2 separate regions of the Homo sapiens genome follow, and region 2 is linked to region 1. The links are contacts of gene promoters, found by promoter capture Hi-C in blood cells and fetal thymus (Javierre and others, 2016). All regions are on one chromosome and are shown on one strand. Each heading gives the region's core, a stretch centred on a gene start or on the middle of the fragment in contact. The rest is flanking DNA. Distances are from core to core; before and after follow the strand shown.

The links. The method cuts DNA at HindIII sites, captures the fragments that hold promoters and counts their contacts. A CHiCAGO score of 5 or more calls a contact.
Region 2: a contact is called between a fragment that was not itself captured here and the fragment with the promoter of ADAMTSL2 in region 1, in 4 of 17 cell types (fetal thymus, activated CD4 T cells, naive CD4 T cells and 1 more). The highest score is 6.7, in fetal thymus.

The regions. Positions count from the first base shown.
Region 1 is chr9:133,530,188-133,537,234 of GRCh38, forward strand. It overlaps ADAMTSL2 (ADAMTS like 2), which reads left to right and starts at 4,517. Exons shown (of 19, transcript NM_014694.4): 1 at 4,517-4,730; 2 at 6,376-6,615. The coding sequence starts at 6,526. RefSeq lists enhancers at 1-287, 3,382-3,923, 3,924-4,463, 4,464-5,005, 5,546-6,087 and 1 more and a silencer at 3,034-3,123. The HindIII fragment of the contact is 12,534 bases long and covers 624-7,047 here.
Region 2 is chr9:133,715,826-133,722,872 of GRCh38, forward strand. It overlaps SARDH (sarcosine dehydrogenase), which reads right to left. Exons shown (of 21, transcript NM_001134707.2): 7 at 3,113-3,217; 8 at 1,501-1,630. Among named protein-coding and RNA genes, the nearest start is that of SARDH, 19 kb to the right of the region's middle. RefSeq lists enhancers at 1-481, 482-1,183. The HindIII fragment of the contact is 3,555 bases long and covers 2,014-5,568 here.

The sequences.
Region 1 (7,047 bases), core at 3,267-5,766:
CTGCGTCCCTGTTGGTCCCAGCCTCTTGTCTGCCCCAGCTTGCCTCTCTACGTGGAAACTTGCCCCTCTTGGGCACCACATCCCTGGGCTTGCAGGGAAAGGAGAAGCTGAGTCAGGGCTCGCAAGGCCCTGGGCTCCAGGAACAGCAGTGGAGGCCATCGGGGAGGGTCCCGCTGCTGGTCCTGGTGGGGAGGCTGAGCACGTCCTGCTGCTCTGGGCTCTCCTGGGACCCAGGTGCACCCCATCCTGGACCAATGACAGGCACCCCATCCTAGCCCCAGACATCTCACAGGCACACTCGAGAGACAATGTGAGAAAGTTGGCCAGGCTGAGAAAGTCCACTTGGACTCAGGCGGGGTCCAAGCCTTGGCCTCAGCTTCCTTCTCTGTCTGGGCGTGGCAGTGTTACCTGATGTGGCATTGTCAGGATGGAGGATGACAGCAGAGTAGACACTGGCCCCGGGCTACCCTTTGGGCTCAGAGCAAAGCACGTGCAGCCCTTCCTTTCTCCACCACCATCCCAGGCCCTTCTCCCATATGGACTCATTTCAGCCTCACAAGAGTCCAGCATGGGGAGTGCCTTATCACCGCCACTTTACAGGTGAGGAAGCTGAGGCACAGAGAAGCTTCTGCCCTCGCCCAAAGTCACCCAGCTGGAGAGAGACGGAGTCAGGATTTGAACCCAAAGAGTCCGGTTCCAGGCACTCACGCGTGAGGCTGCTGTTGCTGTGCTATTGGAAGAGCTGCTGCTTCCTATGCTGAGCCTCCACGCTAAGCCTCTGAGACGGGGCCCTTCTGAGTGTCGGGATCCAAGGTCCTGGGTTTCCTGCTTCACCTGGCTGTGACACCAGTGGCTGCCCGCCCCTGGTCACTGTGGGTGGCATGGAAGAAAGAGCTCACTGGCTTGGTGATGTCCTCCTGCCCCCAGCAGATATCCCTGACACGGGGCATCTCTGGAGGTCATGGCCGTGTGCGAGCAGAGCCCGAGGGGCTGCTGGGGGCTGGGGTTCTTCCGGTCCGCCAGCTTTCAGATGATGCTTCCAGGAGTCCTGGTGCCCAGAAGGGGCCTCAGGGCTGCTGGGGAGAAGAGGGGAAGCAGGAGCCCCCACCTCTGCTTTTGTCTCAGTTGTCTCTTGAGTGTGCCTGTGAGATGTCTGGGGCTAAAAAAGGACCTTGACCTTGTGCAACAGACCAGGAAACTCGGCCTGTCAGGGACAAGTGGCCTGAAGTGACCTGGCCAGCCAGTGGTCGTGCATGGACCTGGGACCAGCCAGGGAAGGCGGGGGAGGCTCTTCCCGTATATCCAGCCCCAGGGGGGTCTCAGGGACAGCTGGCTTCTATCCTGGGCCAGGAAGGAAGCTCGGGGACAGGGACGGCTCTTGGGGTTGCTGAGGCCCCCTCGCTCTTTCCCTGGGGCTGCCTTCTGAGTCCTGGTCCTCTTCCGGGGCTGCCAGCCACCTCCCAGCTGGCCACATGGTCCCTTGGTGGCCCCGTCCCAGTCAGGTGTGAGAACTCTGGCTGGGTCTGCCCAGGAGGCTCCTAGGATGTTCTGGGTCCTGGGCTGGCAACAGAGAAGAACCGCAGGATGCCAGGGAAGGTGGTATTGGTGGGCCACTCTTGAGGCTGTGGCCGGCCAGCCCTATCGGCTAGGTGAACCACACTACACACATACATTTGCCAGGCCTGCTAGGCCTCTGGGTGACAGAGAGGGGACCCACCTCGACAGCTCGGGCCACGTCCTTAAACTCCCGAGCCTGCTGTGGCCACTTTGCTGTGAGGACAGGCCCTGCTCCCACTGCGGCAGCCTAACATCCTCCCCAGGGAACCTCCAAAGTGGTCAGCCACGGCCCACCAGCCCCTCTGCCTCAAGCCTGCTTCTCTATCCCCGCCGTGTTTTCCCTGGAACCCCACCCTCCCGGGCATCCCCCACACATATTCCTGCTGTCCTATTTCTAAGCTCCTCAGATATCTGGAAAACACTGGCGGAGAAAATCCCCTTCTTTTTTTTCTCTCTCTTTTTTTCTTTTTGAGACGGAATCTCACTCTTTCACCCAGACTGGAGGGCAGCGGCGAGATCTCGGCTCACTGCAACCTCCACCTCCCAGGTTCAAGCAATTCTCCTGCCTCAGCCTTCCGAGTAGCTGGGATTACAGGTGCCCGCCACCACGCCCAGCTAATTTTTGTATTTTTAGTAGAGACAGGATTTTACCATGTTGGCCATGCTGGTCTCAAACTCCTGACCTCGTGTGATCCCCCTGCTTCAGCCTCTCAAACTGCTGGGATTATAGGCATGAGCCACTGCGCCTGGCCAACAATCCCCTTCTAAAGGCAGGTGGTGTCTCCAGCACCAGGGCCATACGGCTGCAACACCCCTACAAGTGCCGGTAGGTGTGGGCTGAGACCATCCTACATGGGGAAGGCCCTGAGAGGCCGGGAATTTGCAGGCCGAAGAGGGATCCTGGAGAGTGGGGGACTCACCTCAACAGCACTCTCTAAGGGGTAAGGAGCCCCTGGCATCAGGAGCTACCAGAGCACCTGCTACGTGCCAGTCATGGCTCCCTGTGGGCCTCAAGTCTGCAGGCTCTGGGGTAAGGGGTGGGGGTGGTGTGGAAGTGTGGCTGGCCAGGGGAGCTGGGGCCTGGAGGGTCACACACCTGCAGGAGGTCACAGAGCCAGGGGATGGCTGGCCCCACAGACCCGTCTCCCAGGTGGCCAGCCTGCAGCCTGTGCCGTCCTGCTGAGCCAAGAGAAGACACTGGGGGTGTTTGTGTTGGTCGGCTGTGGGGTCCCTCCCAAGGGAAACCGTTAGTCACCCTGGCGCTGGCTGGATGTGAGGCCACAAACGCCAGGAGAGCTCGGGGACTGTGCCAAGGGGTGCGAGGCCTGGCGGTCACCAGAAGAGAGAGGAAGGGGATGGCAGAGGCACCCAGAGCGAGTGTAATCCGGTCATGTGAGAGGGACTGGGTGTGTGTGTGCCTGTGTGTGTGTGTGTGTGTGTGTGTGTGTGTGTGCTGGGTGACAGGTGCCACCATGTCTGTGATTCAGCACAGCGACCCCAGGGGGCAGTGTGGGCCTGGGTTAGGGTTAGGGTTAGTCCTGGTTCCACACCGCAGGTGGCCCTGTGACTAGGAGCAGCCACCTTGCATCCCAGTTGCCCCAGCAGGAGAATGAGATGAATAAGACTTGCCTGCCCGAGGGTCCCGGGGAGAGAAACTTAAACAACCCGGCAGAGGAGAGAACCCGACACTCAGGAGCGCTGGCATCCCAGCCTTGCCTACTGGAGAGGTGACTTGGTCCCCGAACCTCAGTTCTTCCACCTGTGAAATGCAGATCATAAAGGTGGATCTGGCCTCACAGCTCTGGGCCCGTAGGACAAGCTGGACAGAGGGCAGACGGTATTATCGCTTTCACTACTATTACTGGTGGCTTTCCTTCCCAGCCTTTCTGGTGGGTGGTCAGACACAGGGCAGAACTTTCTCATGAAGGCAGCTGAAGGAACTCACAAGTTTCTTCCAGCAGGGAGGACAGAGGGAAGGAGAAGTGTCTTCCCGGCACTGCTGTGGGCCCAGGACATCTGCTGCATGGAGGCAGGGGCATGGATGAAAAGACACAGATGACCTGATGGAATGGTGCCCCAGCTTCCTCCTCCTCCCCTTTTTGGAGGTGCCTCTGTTTGCCGAGGATGGGCTCTGGGGAAGCTGGTGTGCAGAGGCTAGGTGCCCAGCCTTGCTTTAGGAAAGCCTCACAAAGTCTGGGGCCCGCCGGGAGTTTCCCAGGGGGGCTCTGCTGCTCCACCCACTCTCGCTCCCCTCTGTGCCCTGACTCAGCAGGAACAGAGGCTTGAGCTCCAGGCCTGGCCTGCCAGGGGCTGCCAAGTTGGTGCTGGACATCTGCAGAATCCCTGAGCCTCTCTGCCCTGGCCCTGGCTGCTCTAGCCATCTGGTCAGCAGGCCACGGGCACATCTGTCTCCTCCCTGGAGCCCTTGGTTCATTCTCGCTGGGTCTCCCTGCGTCCCTCCACCTGCTTAGGCCCCTGCATCTCGGGAGCTTTCTGAGGCTCGTGACCTGGGGCACGGTCGTCCCGGAAGTTCAGCCTTTCCCTCCGTACAACGGAGCCATCAGACGGGACACCTCATACATCCCAGACCCCATTCTCAGGAGCCCCAGGGACAGGGCCCGCTCTGGAGGCAGAAGCCGGACAGGCGGGGCTGGGGCTTTGCCACCGCCAGCCTCCCCGGTAACCTCAGGCCAGCGGCTGCTCCGTCTGGACACCCGACATGTGGCCCCCAGTTCTGGACCCGGGAAGAAGGCCTCCCTGCTCGCCGCTCCTGGGCCGCCGCCGCCGGCAGCAGCCAACAGGCAGCTGGGCCGGCCTGGCCGGGCTCCAGAGGCGCAGAGCGGGTTAAAGTGTGCGCCAGGCCGGCCGGCGCGGGCGGGGGAGCGGCCTGGTGGGAAGTGTGAGTGTTCCTCCCCGTCTGCCTGACAGCTATAAAGGCGGCCGCCGGCGCAGAGCCGCCACTGGGCTGCGCCCCTCCCGGGAACCCCCTCTCTTGGATGCTCTTTGAAGTGGGAGAGGGAGGCGGCGCGGGGGAGGAGGGGAAGGGGAGAGGGAGGCCGGGCCGCAGCCTCTGCACTCACGCCGCCCCCGCACGCACAGCGCACCTGGCGCCGTCTGCCCTCCGCAGCGCTCGCCCCTTTCTCTGGGAGGACAACCTGCTGACCCGAAGCCAGGTAGGCCACCTCGTCCCCGTCCCCCTCACGTTGCAGCGTCCACCAGGCCAGCCCACTGCTCAGAGTGGGGCTGGGGGTAGGAGCACCCCGCGCCCTCTGGAGCCGTTACATAACGTGGGGAGGCTTGTGGGGAGGGGTCGGGCCGCAGAGCACGGGGCAGGGTGGCCTCCCAGCACCTAGCCTTGTGCGCCCGGAGCTCTGTGTGCACGGCAGACCTCTCTGCTGCCGCCAGCCGCTGCTTTTGGACCCCAGGGAGGGATGGATCCCCGTGAGCGAGGCCTGGCCAGAAGCCAGTGGTGTCTGGAAGCCTTAATGAAAAAAGCAAGTGTGAGGCCGGCTGGCACCTGTCTTCAGCCGGCAGGCAGAGGCTGGGGCACCCGTTAGCCAATGGCACAGTGGAGGGGGCTCCTGTGGGTGTGAGGCTGAGAGTGCAGATGGAGGTCTGCAGGGGAGGGAGGTGGGGGGCAGGCGGCGGGGGCAGGGGAGGTCAGACTCAGGCTCCCCACTCCAGGGTGCACTGCTGCGTCGTCCGGGCTGCAGTGGTGTCCTTGGAGTGGCCCCTGAAAATCTGCAGGTGCCGGGCCTGCAAGGAAACTCTTCAAGTTGGATGGAGGCTGCTGAGGAGGGAGGGGCAGAGCCCGAGTTGGCCTCTGGCCTGGCAGGGGTGAGGGGTGACCTCCATGCCTTCTTCCCCTGGAATTGGCCAGGCGTGGGGGTCGAGTCCCTGAGTTTGCTAGTGTGCTACCTTGCTGTGTGGCTTTGAGCAGGTTGGCTCCCCTCTCTGGGCTCCAGGTTATGAGTGCAGGCTGCGTGGTTTCTGAAATCCCTTCTCTAACTCGCTGGCAAGTGACCCTCAGCACCTGAGCAAGGCCTGGACAGAGGTCATGGTGGATCTCTGGTCTTCCCTTCCACAGGGCAGGGTCGACGCTGAGGAGGGGGTGGGGAGAGCTGAGGGCCTGGAGGCTGGACAGTCCCTTCCAATGGGCTTGCTTTGACCCCTGGCAGGTGTTTTGAGCCAAGGGTGCTGGCTGTTGGGAGGAAGTCAGCCTTGTGGCCCTGGACTGCTGACATGCTGGCACAAACTGCACCTCCTCCTGCCCTGCCCCTCCCCCAATTCCATCTTCTCTCCGGGGATCGGGAGGCGGCATAGGTACCTGGGTTCTGCCTCACCTGAGTGCCGGCTGTTGCTGGATGCTGACTGTGGAGCTGCTGGTCTAGGGCGAGGCTGCACATTCCCCCGGGACCTGGCCAAGCCCATCCCCATGCACTGACCCTAGCAGCCAGTGGCAGAGGCCATTCTCCTGCGAGGCCAGCAAGAGCTGAGCCAGTTAAAATCCCAAGGTGCTCCTGCCAAGGCGCTGGACTGAGCCCAGGCCCATCCCTTCGAACCAGAGCCTTTCCCCCCGCCTGGGTCCCCAGCCCCCTCAGCCGAGGCTGGCTGTCTCCACAGCCCTTCTCTAGGGGGCTTGAGGACTTGGAGGCAAAGCATGGCATGCTTCCCTGCATGCCCTTGGATCAAGGGTGGCACAGGCTTAGCACGCACACCGCCGCTGGGTGTCTTGCCTGAAGCAGGCATTACTAATCATTCACCAAGCTCCTTCTTGCTAAGCCTAGACTGAGGCGGGGGGTTCATCCTTCCCAACAGGGTCTGCCAGACAACCACGACCAACTAGTCCCAGATAACCTTGAGGCCTGGGCACTGGCTGGGCCCCGAGGGCTCTTCCCAAAGCGTACCCTGGTCATCTGGAAGAGGATCGGAGCTGGCCTGGTGGTGACAGTGGCCTTGCTTCCTAGGATGGATGGCAGATGGCAATGTTCCTGCTGGGCCTGGTTCCTGCTGGTTCTGGCAGTTGTAGCTGGGGACACAGTGTCAACCGGGTCCACGGTGAGTGGGGTGTTGTGGTCTGAGGGCCCATGCCAGTCCCCTACCCAGGTGCTGTGATCACTCTCAGATGGACTGGCTTGGAGGGAGCCGTGTGGGCACGTGCCCCAGGTCCCAGAACCCATCTTGGCTCCTAGAAACTTCTGCCCAGAGCCAGTCAGATCAGCCTCTGAACTGGGGCCCTGGCTACTGTGGAGCCCCTGGCGACTTGGCAGGCGAGGGCTGAGGGGGCTGAGTGCTTCCCTTCCAAGTGAAGGCCCCAGCACGGCCAGGGTAGGCTGTGTCCTGCAGAACGCAGTTGGGCCCTGAGCTGCTCCGGGGAAAGTGAGGACAGTTAGATGCGGCCCCAGGAGCTTGCCAAGCCCCCAGGCCATCCTGGACCTTAAGGTCAAGGAGGACCCGTGGCCCACGGTTCCTTGGGAGTTCCCCCCAGCG
Region 2 (7,047 bases), core at 2,541-5,040, 180 kb after region 1:
TCACCATCTCACAGATGCACCTACTCCAGAGGGCACCCATTCCAGTGCCCTTCACTAAAGGCACAGAGGGACTCACCAGGCTTCTGACACGAAGTTTCCCTGGGGGCAACACTGTGTCTTCCTGAACCTCTCTCCCAGCCCTGAAGCGGGGCCAGAGCTCCCCCTACCAGGAAGCAGTGGGGAACACCATGTGATTCTGCTGGAACCCCAATGTGGGGGATTGTCTGTGCCCACCTGGTGCTCCCCTGCTCAGATCACGTATCCGCGGCAGGCCCAGCGCTGACTCGCCCTCCAGGGCCGGGCTAGGCTGCCCCTCCTCCTGGCCGCCCGTCTGTGTCCTCAGGCTGTGGCCACCCAGTCACCCCATGCCTCGTGTCAGAGCACCCACCCACGGGCTGTGATCAGTGACTTGCATTGGGTCTCCCCTGCCAGAAGGAGGGCGCTGGCCCTGAGCGTGCCTGCCTCCACCACCGACGAAGTGCCACTTAATGTAGAATGAATGCCCTCATGAAGGAATGCTGGTGCTCTGGGGTCACCGGTAGCTCCTGGGCTGCCCCACACTCAACTCAGGGACGTCTGGCTCAAAGTCCCGTGGTTATAAACACTGGGGTGCCAAGGTCAGCTGCAGCCCCTCCTGCTTCCCAGAGAGTGCACCTTTGCCAGGGCCCAGGCCAGCAGCCTCAGCCCCACACCCGCCCCCTGGGGCAGAGCCTTCCGGGCTCCCCAGGCCAGCAGCCTCAGCCCCACACCCGCCCCCTGGGGCAGAGCCTTCCAGGCTCCCCAGGCCAGTAGGGTGGGGTGGGGCTGAGCTGCGCTGTGGATGACCCACGTGGGGCATCTGGGAGCTGAGCCCACCTTTTTGCTCCAGCCTCTTCCAGCTAAGTTCTCCTGGGGCTAGCAAGGAGGGCCAGAGTTAGGGGAATCTTGACACAAGAACCTTCCCCCGCTGAGCTGGCCTCCAGGTGCAAGCCGCCAAGAACAGGAGGGAGGCCAGCAGCATGGGGTCCTGGCCAGGGCAGTGCTCTCTGGGAGCGGTGGGGGCTGGGGCTGGAGGCAGAACTGGGACTCACAGCTGTATAAGCCTCTCATCAGGGAAGGTCTCAGCCCTTCCATTCCTGGCTCAGCCTCACAGGGTGCTGGGATGTGGCCCGCTATTCCCATTTTACAGATGAAAACACAGAATTCCAGGGACAAGTCAAGTCTAGGGATGAAGAAGCCCAGGTGGGGAAGCCAGGACCAGCCACCCTTGAGGCAGGAGGAGGCCCTGGCCTCGTGCTTGGGGCAGATGATGGCCCTTGTGAAGCCCAGGCCTCTCGCCCGTAGAGGGGAATAAAGGCCACACCTAGTACCCAGGGCTGCTGGAGCCAAGCAGCGAGAGGGACCGGGGACAGCCCTGGGTCCCCTGTGTGACACAGGCTGGTCTCACGGGGCATCACTACTAACAGTCATCAGACCAAAGGACCCATGGACGCCCACCCCAGCTCCGAGGCTGTCACTCACCAGGGCCGCAGACCGTGGACTTGATTCCTGTCTTCTCCAGCACGGGGACCCTGTTGATGGCGCCTTCAATGTGCTGGGTGAACACCTCCCAGTCCAGGTCAAAGAGGCCGAAGGCAAACTTGTCTGACACCTGCCAAGGCAGGGCAGGGGAACATCTCCGTTGTCCCCAAGAAGGCCATGCATCCCCATGCCAAACCTGCCTTGTGATGGCTGCCAGGCCAGCCTCTGCTGAATCAGATGCATTAGAGGGCTGGTGGTCACCCACACGTCCCAGCCGTTTGTCTCCCCCACCCACCAACCCATCAGCAAGGTCTGTCTGCTCCCCCTCCCCACCCCAGCCCAGGCCTCCACCCACTCCCCTAGATCCCACCATGCCCCTTCCCTACTCACAAGCCTCCTCTGGCCCCCTGCAGCTCACGATGGCCCCAAAGCCCTGTATGGCATGTGCCAGCCTGCCTACCTCTACCACTGGGCCCGCCACCCTGACCTTCCTGCAGCTCTTTGGGAAGAGCAAGCTTGTGTGAGCTCAAGGCCTTCACCCCTCAATGGGGCAGTTCTTCACCCAGACCTGGCACGCTGGTTTGTTGTCGCGGTGCAGGGCTCTGCTTGGATGTCCCCTCCCTGAAAAACCCTGCCCTGACCACCCATCTAAAGGATATCCTTCTGCTCCAGTCTCTCTAGGCTGATCCTTAACCTGCTAATTTTATTCAGTGCGCGATCATCTTCCAGAATTTCATTCCTTGTTCATTTGTTTGTTTGTTTGTTTGTAACAGTCTCACTCTGTCACCCAGGCTGGAGTAAAGTGGTGCGATCTCGGCTCACTGCCACCTCCATCTCCCGGGTTCAAGTGATTCTCCTGCCTCAGCCTCCCAAGTAGCTGGGATTACAGGTGCCCGCCACCACACCTGGCTAATTTTTGTATTTTTAGTAGAGTTGGGATTTCACCATGTTGGCCAGGCTGGCCTCAAATTCCTGACCTCAGGTGGTCCGCCCACCTCAGCCTCCCAAAGTGCTGGGATTACAGGTGTGAGCCACCGTGCCCAGCCATTTGTTTGTTTATTGTATGTCTCTCCACCAAAATATAGGCACCCAGAGTCAGGGACTTTTATCTTAGTTTCCCTCTTTCTCCAGAAATTAAAGCAGTTTTTAGCCCAAAGTAGCCACTCAGTCGTTCCATGTGTGGACTAAATGCATATACACATAGAACAGGGCTGCAGGGCTGCCCTAACCCCAGAAGCTGCCCGGGAAACAGCCCAGGCCAGGGGAAATGCCGCTGCAGCAGCTGGTTGGGAGGGCAGTGTCATTTGCTGAAGGACGTAGGACTTGTGTGCTCTCATGCCCTTCTGAGGTCATCACTCCACACTGCGCAGACCTTCTCTGTGGATGTTTTGAGGCAAAGCCCTCCAGCTGCCCTGGGTCTGTATTTGACTGCCTGCCAGGACCGTCAGGGTAAGAGCAAGATGGCTTTGAGCTTGGTGGGGTCAGGGGACCGGCCACTTCTCAGGTGTGCCTCTGAGGAGCTTCAGGAGGATGGACTTCCTGAAAGAGGCCCTCTCCATGCTGAGATGCAGCCCCAACTCCCTCCCATTATCCCAGGGCCCTGGCATCTTACCTCCTCCCAAAAGATGGGGTTGGCCTCATAGCCACCCACAGACAAGGCATCCCCTTGGAGGCGGAGGTAGACAGAGGCATCATGATCACGGACATTGGGCATGTTCTGGAAGGCAGAGAGAGAGGCCTTGGCATCATCCAGAACTGGGTGGGGACTTGGTTCCCCATGCCCCGTGGTGGGCCAGCACCTCCACCCAGGGTCACGGGCTCGAGATGGTCCTTCTCGTTGTAGGACCCCGAGGACAGAGTGGACACGGGGCCTCAAGTTACACACAGTGAATGGGTCACTGCCATTCAAGCCTCTCCTTCCCCAAATCCCATAAAATAACAGCAAAAGGGGAAGAAGGAAGAAGGAATGGATCGAGGAAGAGAGCAAGGGAGGAAGGGAGGGAAGCAAAACATATAACCGACAAAGATGAGAGAACAGGCAGAGGCAGCAGTAGAGGATGGGAGATTCCAACCAACCCTGGAGGACGCAGAGTGGATGGAGGAGGGGTGAGACTTAGCTGGGGCTGGAGGAGAGGGAGACTGAGCAAGGCAAGCCAGTGTGCCCCTCCTGCCTCCTCTTGAATCTTCAGAGCCACCCCAGGTCCCTCTTCAGGGGGTGATGCGCTTGCTCATGTATGGAAGGATCTTCCTCTGGAGAGGTGGGTCCTGAGAGGCTCCAGAAGTGGGGAGAGTGGACTGCCATCCCCCCACCCCCCCACCCCAGGAGCAGATTGGAGACTCTTCTGTGAGACACTGAGAGGCCCAGGGAAGGCTTGAGATGTTGACACCAGGGTCTCTCTAAAAGCGAAAGGCTTGCCGCCCACCCTTCCTGAGAGGCTCTCCAGTCCTCCCCTCCAAGCCTCCAATCACACTGCTGCTCACTCTCTCCTAAAAACAAAACCACAGGCCAGGCACGGTGGCTCACACCTGTAATCCCAGTGCTTTGGGAGGCCAAGGCAGGCAGATCACGAGGTCAGGAAATCAAGACCATCCTGACTAATATGGTGAAACCTCGTCTCTACTAAAAATACAAAAAATTAGCTGGGCGTGGTGGCGGGCGCCTGTAGTCCCAGCTATTCGGGAGGCTGAGGCAGGAGAATGCGTGAACCCAGAACGTGGTGCTTGCAGTGAGCCGAGATCGTGCCACTGCACTCCAGCCTGGGTGACAGAGCAAGACTCCGTCTCAAAATAAATAAATAAATAAATAAAACAAAACCACAGGCCAGGCACTGTGGCTCACACCTGTAATCCCAGCACTTTGGGAGGCCGACATGGGTGAATCACCTGAGGTCAGGAGTTCAAAATCAGCCTGGCCAACATGGTGAAACCCCATCTCTACTAAAAATACAAAAAATTAACCGGGCGTGGTGGTGGGCAGCTGTAATCCCAGCTACTCAGGAGTCTGAGACAGGAGAATGGCTTGAACCTGGGAGGCGAAGGTTGCAGTGAGCCAAGATTGCACCATTGCACTCCAGCCTGGGCAACAAGAGTGAAACTCTGTCTCATAAATAAATAACCACAAACCACAACAAGAACATCAGGAATACAAGAAGATGGTGTATTAGTGTGTTCTCACGCTGCTAATAAAGACATACCCAAGACTGGGTAATTTATACAGGAAAGAGGTTTAATGGACTCACAGTTCCACATGGCTGGGGAGGCCTCACAATCATGGTGGAAGGCAAATGAGGAGCAAAGGCATGTCTTACATGGCAGCAGGAAAGAGAGAGAGAGCATGTGCAGGGGAACTCCCTTTATAAAACCATCAGATCTCCTGAGACTTATTCCCTACCATGAGAACAGTATGGGGGAAACCACCCCATGATTCAATTATCTCCACCTGGCCCCACCCTTGACACATGGGGATTATTACGATTCAAGGTGAGCTTTGGGTGGGGACACAGCCAAACTGTATCAGAGTGACAGACAGTGCTATGAGAAAGGAATCTAAGATGAAGAAAGAGGTCTTTAAATGAGATATGATAGTCAAAATTTAAAATTCAATGGAAGGGCCAGATAAGGCTGGGGCCATCATCCAGCGATTAGGCTAAAAGAAAAAGACAACAAAACAGAAATCAGGAGTGGAAAAAAAATAAGAATATCAGAAGGTCCGTCTTGAAAGTTCAACATCCATTTTACAGCGGTTCCAGAAAGAGAAGACAGAGAAAAATGGAGTCGAGAAAAATGTCCAAGCAACAGCCCAAGAAGAGTCCTCCGATTGAAAATCACGCATTCATATGGAAGGGCCCAAGAGTGCCCACCAAGCCCTGAGTCTGGACAGAGGCCTGCACCAAGGCCACGCCGTGGGAAACATCACAACACCGGATGGCCAGGAGGGCCATCAACAGGGGACTGCATCGCTGGAGGCTGGAAGACATGGAGCAAACTCTTCAAACGTCTAATGGATGATTTTCAACACAGAATTCTAGATCCTGTCAAGCCATCAATCGAGTGTAAGCAAAGAATAAAAGCTTTTTCAGACATTCATGGACACAAAACATATACTTCTCTCGTACTCCTTTGCAGTAAACAGCCAGAGAACACGCTGTGACAAAAGGAAGAAAATAAACCCAGAAAGAGTGAAAGCCATGGCTCCAGCGGGGAGGCGTGAAGAAGGCCCTGGAGTGACAGCTTAGACCATGCAGCGGTCAGTCCAAAAGGGAGCGGAAGATCTGAAGGCAGCAGGAAGTCCTCCAGGGGAGGGAAATGGGACTTGGGGGCGTTAGGTGGTTTATCTGATGTGTGTGCGTATTCAGAAAATAGTATCAATAGTATCAATATGTTTGACAGATCCCTTGACACAACTGGGGAAAAATAGTGACAGTTATATATACACATGCAAATACCCCCAACAAAACAATAGCAAACTGAATCCAGCAATATATAAGAGAGATGATACACCATGGCCAGACTGGACGTGGTGGCTCATGCCTGTAATCCCAGCACTTTGGGAGGCCAAGGCGGGAGGGTCATTTGAGGTCAGGAGTTCGAGACCAGCCTTGGCAACATGGTGAAACCCCAACTCTACTAAAAATACAAAAATCAGCTGGGTGTCGTGGCACATGCCTGTAATCCCAGCTACTCAGGAGTGGAGGCAGGAGAATTTGCTTGAACCCAGGAAGCGAAGGTTGCAGTAAGCCAAGATCACACCACTGCACTCCAGCCTGGGCAACAGAGTCTCACTCTGTCTCAAAAACACAAAACAAAACAAAACAAAACACCATGGCCAACTGGAATTTATCCTAGGAAGGCAAGTTTGGTATAATGTATGAAAACCAATCAATAGAATACCCCACATCAACAAAGTACAGGACAAAAACCACGTAATCATCCCAGTAGATGCATGAGAAGCATTTGACAGAATCCAACATCTTTAATGATTTTTTTTTTTAAAGCCTCAACAAACACTTAACAAACTTGGAAGAAGGGAACTTCCTCAAAGTGCTGAAGGGTATCTACAAAAACCCACATGGAATGTGATACTTCAAGGAAGAAGGATGGCTGATTTCCCCCCAAGATCAGGAATTAGAGAAAGATATCCATTCTTACCCCTTCTACCCAACATTACATTGGAGGTTTTAGCCAGGGCAGCAATTAGGCAGCAAAAGTAATAAAAGGCACCCAGATTGAAAAAGAAGAAGTAAAAATATTCCTATTTGCAGATAACAAGGTCTTGTATATACAAAATCCTAAGGAAACCACTAAAAAACTACTAGCGCTCTCTCTCTCTCTCTCTCTCTCTCTCTCTCTCTCTTTCTCTCTTTCTTTCTGACAGAGTCCTGCTCTATCGCCCAGGCTAGAGTGCAGTGGTGCCATCTCAACTCACTGCAACCTGCACCTCCTGGGTTCAAGTGATTCTCCTGCCTCAGCCTACCGAGTAGCTGGGACCATGCCTGACTAATTTTTGTGTTTTTAGTAGAGACAGGGTTTCACCATGTTGGCCAGGCT